2 separate regions of the Homo sapiens genome follow, and region 2 is linked to region 1. Evidence: promoter capture Hi-C in human tissues and cell types (Jung and others, 2019). All regions are on one chromosome and are shown on one strand. Each heading gives the region's core, a stretch centred on a gene start or on the middle of the fragment in contact. The rest is flanking DNA. Distances are from core to core; before and after follow the strand shown.

The links. The method cuts DNA at HindIII sites, captures the fragments that hold promoters and counts their contacts. A contact is called where the count stands out against the background at its distance.
Region 2: a fragment that was not itself captured here is called in contact with the fragment with the promoter of ADORA2A in region 1 in 2 of the 25 tissues and cell types used here (lymphoblastoid cells and spleen).

The regions. Positions count from the first base shown.
Region 1 is chr22:24,425,586-24,429,623 of GRCh38, reverse strand. ADORA2A (adenosine A2a receptor) reads right to left here and starts at 2,025. Exons shown (of 3, transcript NM_000675.6): 1 at 1,878-2,025. All of the region lies in intron 18 of SPECC1L-ADORA2A (SPECC1L-ADORA2A readthrough (NMD candidate)), which reads right to left. ADORA2A-AS1 (ADORA2A antisense RNA 1) reads left to right here. Exons shown (of 7, transcript NR_028484.3): 7 at 1-418. RefSeq lists enhancers at 1-164, 239-398, 4,006-4,038 and a silencer at 1,835-1,944. The HindIII fragment of the contact is 18,723 bases long and covers 1-4,038 here.
Region 2 is chr22:24,546,981-24,550,648 of GRCh38, reverse strand. GUCD1 (guanylyl cyclase domain containing 1) reads left to right here. Exons shown (of 6, transcript NM_001284254.2): 2 at 1,648-1,732; 3 at 2,576-2,741; 4 at 3,644-3,668. Among named protein-coding and RNA genes, the nearest start is that of GUCD1, 6.3 kb to the left of the region's middle. The HindIII fragment of the contact is 3,805 bases long and covers 361-3,668 here.

The DNA of each region.
Region 1 (4,038 bases), core at 776-3,275:
CACAGCAGCAGGAAGGCTCCTGGGCCTCCAGCTCCCCTCCCTCAGAAGCCTCCCAGAGTGACAGGAAGGTCAGAGGCCCCGGGGAGGGGGCGGGGCCAGGATCTGGCAATTTCCTATCCCTCTCTGTTGGCTCTGTGCATCTAATTACTCCTTGAGTCATCTGTTGCTAACCAGGAGGGGAAATTAAATATTAATAATGTAATACTTCTCTGTGATTACCCCTTGTTGGGGACAGATCAGAGGGCAGATGCTGCCCCATACAGACAGGGGACACATGCTGCGGAATGTGCATAATGCCTCTTGAAAGAACCACCTTATAGGATTCCACGCGGTCAGACTCAAAACTGCTGCTGCTTCCTGCCTTCCTCCTCACCTCCCCCAACCTGGCCACTTTAATTAAAACTCCATTTAATCAAAACCCACACATCTTCTGGTTCCTCATATGTCGCACTAGCAAGGCCCTCTGTACACATGCCCAGATGGTGGCTATACCCCCCAGAGCCTGCTGCACGGAGGTGCCCACCAGCTTCTAGGCAGTGACCTGCACATCTGCTCCTGAGTGCGGCTAAGAGCAACATACAGGACACAGTGCACGGACTCGGACCCGCTCCAGCCATGCCTGGCCTGTTCCTGGGCTCCAGAATCCCAGCCTTAGAACCCTCCTGCTGCTTTTCCATAACAAATGTTTACCAAGTACCTCCACCAGGCCTGGCAGCACCCCAACTGCTGGGCCAAAGGGAGGTGTGCCCCCGTTGCTGTGCCTGGCCCCATCTGAGCATATGGCAGGGGACCTCAAAGGAGGAAAGGACCCAGGACATTCCTGGGAGGCGGCTGCTGCCCTGCAGTTTCAGGCACTGCAGGCCACTCCCTGTCTCCACAACATTGGCTCAGCTAAGAGGAGTCGCAAATCAATTTCAAAGCGCAAGAGGTATATGAAGGCTAAGAAAGGTAAGCAACAGAATAAAAAACATGGAGGTGAATTCATTCCAGTAGGAAGGAAGGTAATACAGTAATCTAATAATGATTTCAGAGACCTTTAGAATCTCCAAAGAGGCAAAGAAAGGAATGGCATCCGTAGACAAGAATGAGAACTTCTGAACCGACTGGCGGAAATGAAACAAGGACAGGTGGATATGAACAAGAAATAATACAAAATCCAGGGACTGAAAAATAGAAGGACTGAAGTAAGGGATGTGGTGAGCTTCAGGCACACGTACAGTGGAAGAGACGACTGGGGATCTGAAGCTAGTACTGAGGAATTCTCCCAGAAACGCCATGAAGAGACCTAGTCTAGGAGGAAACGGTTGAGAGGCATGGGGTGGACTGAGAAGCATCAACAAGTGGCTTGCGGGAGCTCGGCAGGGCACGGCAGGTTGTGGGCCCCACTATGACTGGCTTTTGGGATGGCCCAGGGGGGCCTGGGCATGAACCTCCCAGAACCCAGGGCCCCAGGATCCCCATACCCCTTCCAAACTCATCAGCGCAGGTGCCTTCCTCACTGCCCAGTGGTAAGCAGCCACCCAGCACGGGCTCCACTTCCCTCCTGACCTCCGGGGCTGCCCGGTGGCCCTTACTTCAGGCGCTGGGTGCAGGCTGGGCCCGGGACCCAGAGATACACCTGGCATCCCTCCCCCACAGCCCGGGTGCAGCTGCAGCTCTCTGCTCCTGGTGGCAGGATGTGGGCAAGATGGGGCCAAGACCCAGCTCCCTGCAGCTGGAGGCTAAGGCTCTGAGCCTGCCTCACAGAGCAGCCCCCACATCGCAGCCCCGGGGCCAGTGCTGGGGGCCCCAGCTCCTGCTCCCCACACCCCCATGTGTCCAGGCTAGGGGCCAGGAAGGCCACAGCACCCCCTCCTCCCCGCCTGGGGGCCACTCACCCCCTCACACGAGGCTTCACCTGACAGCCCTCCTCCGAGGGGCCGCACCCCGCACCAAGGTGCTGGGGGCCCACGCTGTGCTGAAAGCAGCTTGGCTGGGGGCGGCTCCTGCTCCATGTCACAGTCCCTGAGGCCCAGGCAGAGCTTCCCCTCTGCACGCGGCTGCTCACATGTACACAGGCTGTGGTGAGCCACGTCACGTCACGTGAAGGATTGGCACCTGCACCTCCCTCAGATGGCGGGCAACAGGTACTATGCCGCTGAAGGGGGGACAAGGGAGTGTTTCTAGATGGCCCCGCGGACACAGAGCCCAGGAGTCCTGGGCGGGACCCTGTGGGAGGCTTGAAGGGGCAGTGCTGGGTGCAGGGCCTCACAATGCCCCAGGGTGGCTGCAATGAGGATGGGAGGGGTGAGGACCGGCTGTTGGGTCCCTGGGCAGGTGCGACGAGGCAGCCCCGGAGGCTGACAGGAGGGCAGGGTGACCAAGCAGAGCCTGGCCACTGCTTCTTCCCCACTGAGCAGCCTCCCCCAGGCTGGCTCAGGGTTTGCAGAGGCCACTGAGGGACCAGAGGCGAGTCCTCCTGTGACACGGGCAGACCAGCCCGGGGCCTCTGGGGAGAAGTCTCCTGCCCAGATGCCAGAGGAGACACCAAGTGGCACCATCGGCCTCCCTCTGCTTGGCCAGCTCCGGCAGCCTCTCCACCAGGTGACGGCCGATGCCAGAGACCAGGGCTGCAGCGGCACATCCGAGGAGTGGGCACAGAAGAGCAGCAGCAGCCCCTGCCCAGTGACTCCTGGAACAAGCTTCCCCTGCGGGGTGTTGGCGGGGGGTGGTGAGAGAATCCCCATGGCAACTCACAGAAACATCATCTGGGTGAGACTTGGAGGAGAAGGTGAAGGGAGAGAGGTATCGAGAGATTCTAGCAGAGAAAATGCCCGAAGCCAGGGTCCTGCCTTCCCTGGGCTCCCATCATCCCCTGTGCTGGGACGAGGGGCAGCTGCTCTGCTGCTCCTCTCTCCACCTGATCCTCCCCAGTCCCTGGCCAGATCCATGGAGTCCAGGCTGCAGGGGCCCAGGCCTCCTCCGCCATGAAACTGCCTCTTCCCACCACCCAGAGCCCCAGGTTCTGCACAGGATGTGGGCAGTTGTGTGGGGGCTCCTCTCTGCACCCCAGCTCCATTCCCTTCCCCATCTGGGCTCCTCTGCTCCTTGCAACCTCTGGACCACCCACCTCCTAGGACCAAGCCCCTCCTGTCAATGGCCCAGACCCTTCTGGGAGCTAGAACCCTCCCATTCACCAGCTCAGCTCCTGCCTGTGCAGTCTCCTCTCCACAGCACCCCCACCACACATGCCCTAAATCCCCTCAGCCTGTGCTTCCCGCCTTCATCCATCCATCCATCTTCTGTCTGTCCTTCCTCTGCTCTCCTGCGTGCTCAGGGCTCTGTTTGCGCTGCAATAGACAAGACAGACCCCGCAAACACGGTTGGGAAGGCAGTTCTAGCTCATTTGGGGTTAGGTGGCTCGGGTATTAGGTCTGTGAGAGGGTACTAAGACCTTCTTTGGAGTGTCAGGACACAGCTGAGAGCCACCAGGGGCTGTGGTCCCACACAGCAGGCACTGCCCAGGCCTCACCTGGACTTTGCAGGACGTGATGCTCTCAAGTCACATGCTGGCTCCCAGGCCAACTACCATTCATATGTCCCTCTGCCAACAGCAATCCCTGTGGTGTCCCCTGACCCTCAAGCCTAACACCCTCCCTCCCGGGTTCCCCGCTCCAGCACACACCCCTCACCGGCCCTCTGGTCTGCCCTAAACCTTCCCCCACTTGCTCCCAAGCCAAGGCCTTTCCACATTAGGCATTGCTAAGATCATCATCCTTGTTCTACAGATGAGATATCAGATTCCCCGGGACAGCAACCTGCTCAGCGAGTGGGTCGAGGAGGCAAGACCAGAACCCAGACGAGAGCACTGAAATCTCCAGCACATCGCGTTGCCCATGAGGCAGTCATTGCCATTGATTGCCCTCCTCCATCGCGACGCAGGGCATATTTGGGGATCTGTAATTCACAGACTGATATGGGAAGAAGCCCAGCACAGCTCTCAGACCAGCCAGGTCAGCCTTGGCCTAAGGCCCGCCTCTGGCCAGAGGTGACTGGGCT
Region 2 (3,668 bases), core at 1,014-3,513, 120 kb before region 1:
GGGGCTGGCACAGCAGGAGGGCTCCTGGGGTGGCTCTACACAGAGCTGGTCACACAGTCCAGGAGAGACCTGCCAGATGGGGAAACAATGTGGGCAAGGTTTTCACGTGCTGAATGAGTGTCATGAGTGAGTAACAGCAGAGATAAGTCTCTTCCTCTTTAGACTCTGAACTTTGTCCAGGTTCATGAGGTGGCTACGGAGGAGGGTCCTGCATGCCACAAGCCCATTTGCCCCACCTCAGGGCCTTAGCACATGCTGTTCCCCCATCCCCTCTAAGGCACACCCCCACTGTTTTCCCCAGCCTAGGCCTCTATTTTGCTATGTTTGCTTATTTTTGCTATCCACCAGGAGAGTGACTTTGTGTCATTCACTGCTGTATCTCCAGTACACACACCAGGCACTTACTAGGCTTTTGGGAAATATTTGTTGACTGAATGACTGAATCAGACCAAAGTCCCCCTGTTTAGGGATGGCCAGACTCATTCCAGCAAGAGGAAGTCAGCTGCCCAGCCCACAGCCAGCCAGCAGTGGCACAGTTGAGACTGGAACGCTAGGTCAGGCCCTTTCTGCTCCACCTCACAGCCTGGCAAAGACAGACCGAGAGGTCGCCCAGGGTTGGTGGGGGATGGAGCTCACAAGAATATTACATATGCTTCATAGCTTACGTGACAGTTCCCTTCTCCTGGCCATGGTCTCACACCCTGGTGGTCCTGGGGTCTTTGGAGTCAAGCAAACCTCCAGGGGCCTCATGAACTCAGATACATTATCTGCTGAGTGCCTCCCATGTGCCAGCCCTGGAATGAAAGCAGGAAACAAAACAGCCCCTGCTGGCCAGGCGGAATGGCTCACGCCTGTAATCCCAGCACTTTGGGAGGCTGAGGTGGATCACCTGAGGTCAGGAGTTCGAGACCAGCCATGGAACCATGGACAACATGGTGAAACCCCATCTCTACTAAAATTACAATAATTAGCTGGGCATGGTGGCGCACGCCTGTGGACTACAGGCTGCTTGGGTGGCTGAGGCAGGAGAATTACTTGCCACCCGGGAATCGCAGGTTGCAGTGAGCCGAGATCATGCCACTGCACTCCAGCCTGTGCGACAGAGCAAGACCCTGTTGAAAAAAAAGAAAAAGACTCTGTCCCTCCTCCTCAGAGCTCCCACCAAAAGAAGGGCTTTGAGTAGGCATGGTGGGAAGTGAATGCACATGTGGGTCACTGGGCCTGAGAGGGGCAATACTGGAGAAGTGACATCCAAGGGCAGGAGTTAGCTCAGGCACCTGGGAAGCCAGGTATGTCCAGGCAGAGGAACCAGGTGTGCAAAGACCTCCAGGGTGTGAGGGATTATGACAAGCAAAGGCAAGGGTGCAGAGGGTGCTAGGGCAGCAGCCATGGAGGTATTGTCTTAAGGAATGTGGGACCCAGCTCACTGGAGGATTTTCAGTTGGGCTGACCTGCTCTGGCCGGTGTTTTGGGGAGATCACTGCTATTATAGGAGCCTGGATTTGAGGGGATTCCTGAAGGATTGTGGGAAGGTCCCTGAGCAGCCCCTGCAGGGTCTAGGCAGGAGGCAGTGACACTGGCTCCCATGAGGGTGGGAGTGGTGGGCTCTGCGCTGAGGGTCTGTGACCTCCCTCTGTTTCTGCACAGGGGACTTTGTGCAACTGCCTGTGCCCGTCATCCAGCAGCTCTACCACTGGGACTGTGGCCTGGCCTGCTCCAGGATGGTGCTGCGGTGAGTGGGGCCAGGGCTGGGGGCCCAGGTGCTTCCCATCTACATCTTCTGCTCTGGCTTGGGAGAGACCTGGGTGGGATCCATGGTCCATGTAGCTATCTTTGGTTGGGGCTTGCAGGAGGCCAAGCTTCTACCTGGTCCTAGTCCCATCTGCAAAAGTGAGCAAGGGGTGGACCAGGCCTTCCAGCTCTCCATGATAGTAATGTCTGGGGGCTTGGGGTGGCCAGGAAGTCCCAGGTGCCCAGGCCTGTCCTACAAGGCAGTTCTGTGACTGGGATAGGAGGCCCTCCACTCCCCAGTTTCTGGCTCCTGGGAGAATGGGGTGCTGACCGTTAAGCTGAGGCTGTGTGAATATCACAGAAACCTGGACAGTGAGAGCCAAGAGGGACTGTAGCCGTCACCTTGTACAAGAGTTTTTCATTTGGCTTCCTGGAACCACAGGGCAGCTGCATCTTCATCTGTTTTACATCCTGGGAATCTCAGCAAGAGAAAATTCAACAAAAGCGTTCTTTGCCTAAAACTTTGAAAACCACTGATGTGATCAGGGACCTTATTTTAGAGATGAAGCTAAAGAGGCCAGAGAAGACAATGACTTGCTCAAGGTCACAGCCCACAAGACACAATAGATTTGAGAAGCAGAGTCCAGGCCTGCAACTCTGGAGCCAGGACGGTGCCCCAAGCAGCCTGGGCAGTGTGTGGGCAGGACCTAGGGTCTCATGATGAAGGAGGGAGACTTCTGGGGAATGGGACCTGTGACGGGGCTCTTGGGCCAGTGGGTGGAGGGTGACTCAGACCAGTTGACCCTCAAGACCAAGCTGAGCTCCCCAGCTCGTCTACCTGCAGGTACCTGGGCCAGCTGGACGACAGTGAGTTTGAGAGAGCCCTGCAGAAGCTGCAGCTGACCAGGAGCATCTGGACCATCGACCTGGCCTACCTGATGCACCACTTTGGCGTGAGGCACCGCTTCTGTACCCAGACCCTGGGTGTCGACAAGGGCTACAAGAACCAGGTGAGCGACCAGCCACCAGGCCTTCCCATGTGGGGCCACACAGAGGTATAAGGCCACCTGGTTCCAGTAGTTGGAAGAGGGAACAGTCAAGGGCTAGACACCCAGGTAGATACCCAGGTGTGCAGAGACCAGGGAGCAGCAGCAGAGAGGCTATAGGCAGGATTTGGGAGCCAGTCAGAGCAGGTGCCCTTGCAGTCGGGCCTGCCCAGAGGATCTGAGTACTGAGTCCTGGCTCCTGTCCACCTGCCTTCTACAGCCCTCAGAATGTGCAGAGGCCACTTCCTACGTTCTTTCCTACTGTCCTCAGCACAAGGCAGGCCCAGGGCCTCTGAGAACATCACTGACCTCATCCGGCCATCATTTGCACATTTTTTTACTTTTCACCAGGAGAGCCAGCTTTTAAGCTATATAATTGGTAGTCTAGAAGAAAACCAAAATACCATCTTTTCTTTTTTTTGCCTTTTGAAAAATAATGCCAACATAGCCATGCCAGCAAAGTGTGTTCCGTGGACGACACCTAGCTAAGCCAAGCTGTAGCTGAGCTGTCCCAGGTGGTTCAGCCTCATCCCCCTTGCTTATTCGCTACGGGCTCCTGCTCATGCCTGCCAGAGTGTACAAGCCCAAGGGTGATCGATCCTCCCCAGAGAGCTGACCTGAGCCCAGCTGCCCACCCCTCTCTCAAGCATCATCCTCATGCCTCTGTGTGGTCCTGCTTCCCTGCTCCTGCTTAGGACAGACAGCTTTCTGATCTGGCTTGCTGCATGTACCGTCTGCCCTGGCAGGTGGGGCTCCTCTGCCCTCCTGCTGTCTCTGCCTCTGTAACACGCTCTTTATTTCCTTCATCTAAATGGAGTGAAGGCAGCCTGGGTGGTGGCCACTCCATCCCCCTCTTCTCTGTTCAGTCCTTCTACAGGAAGCACTTTGACA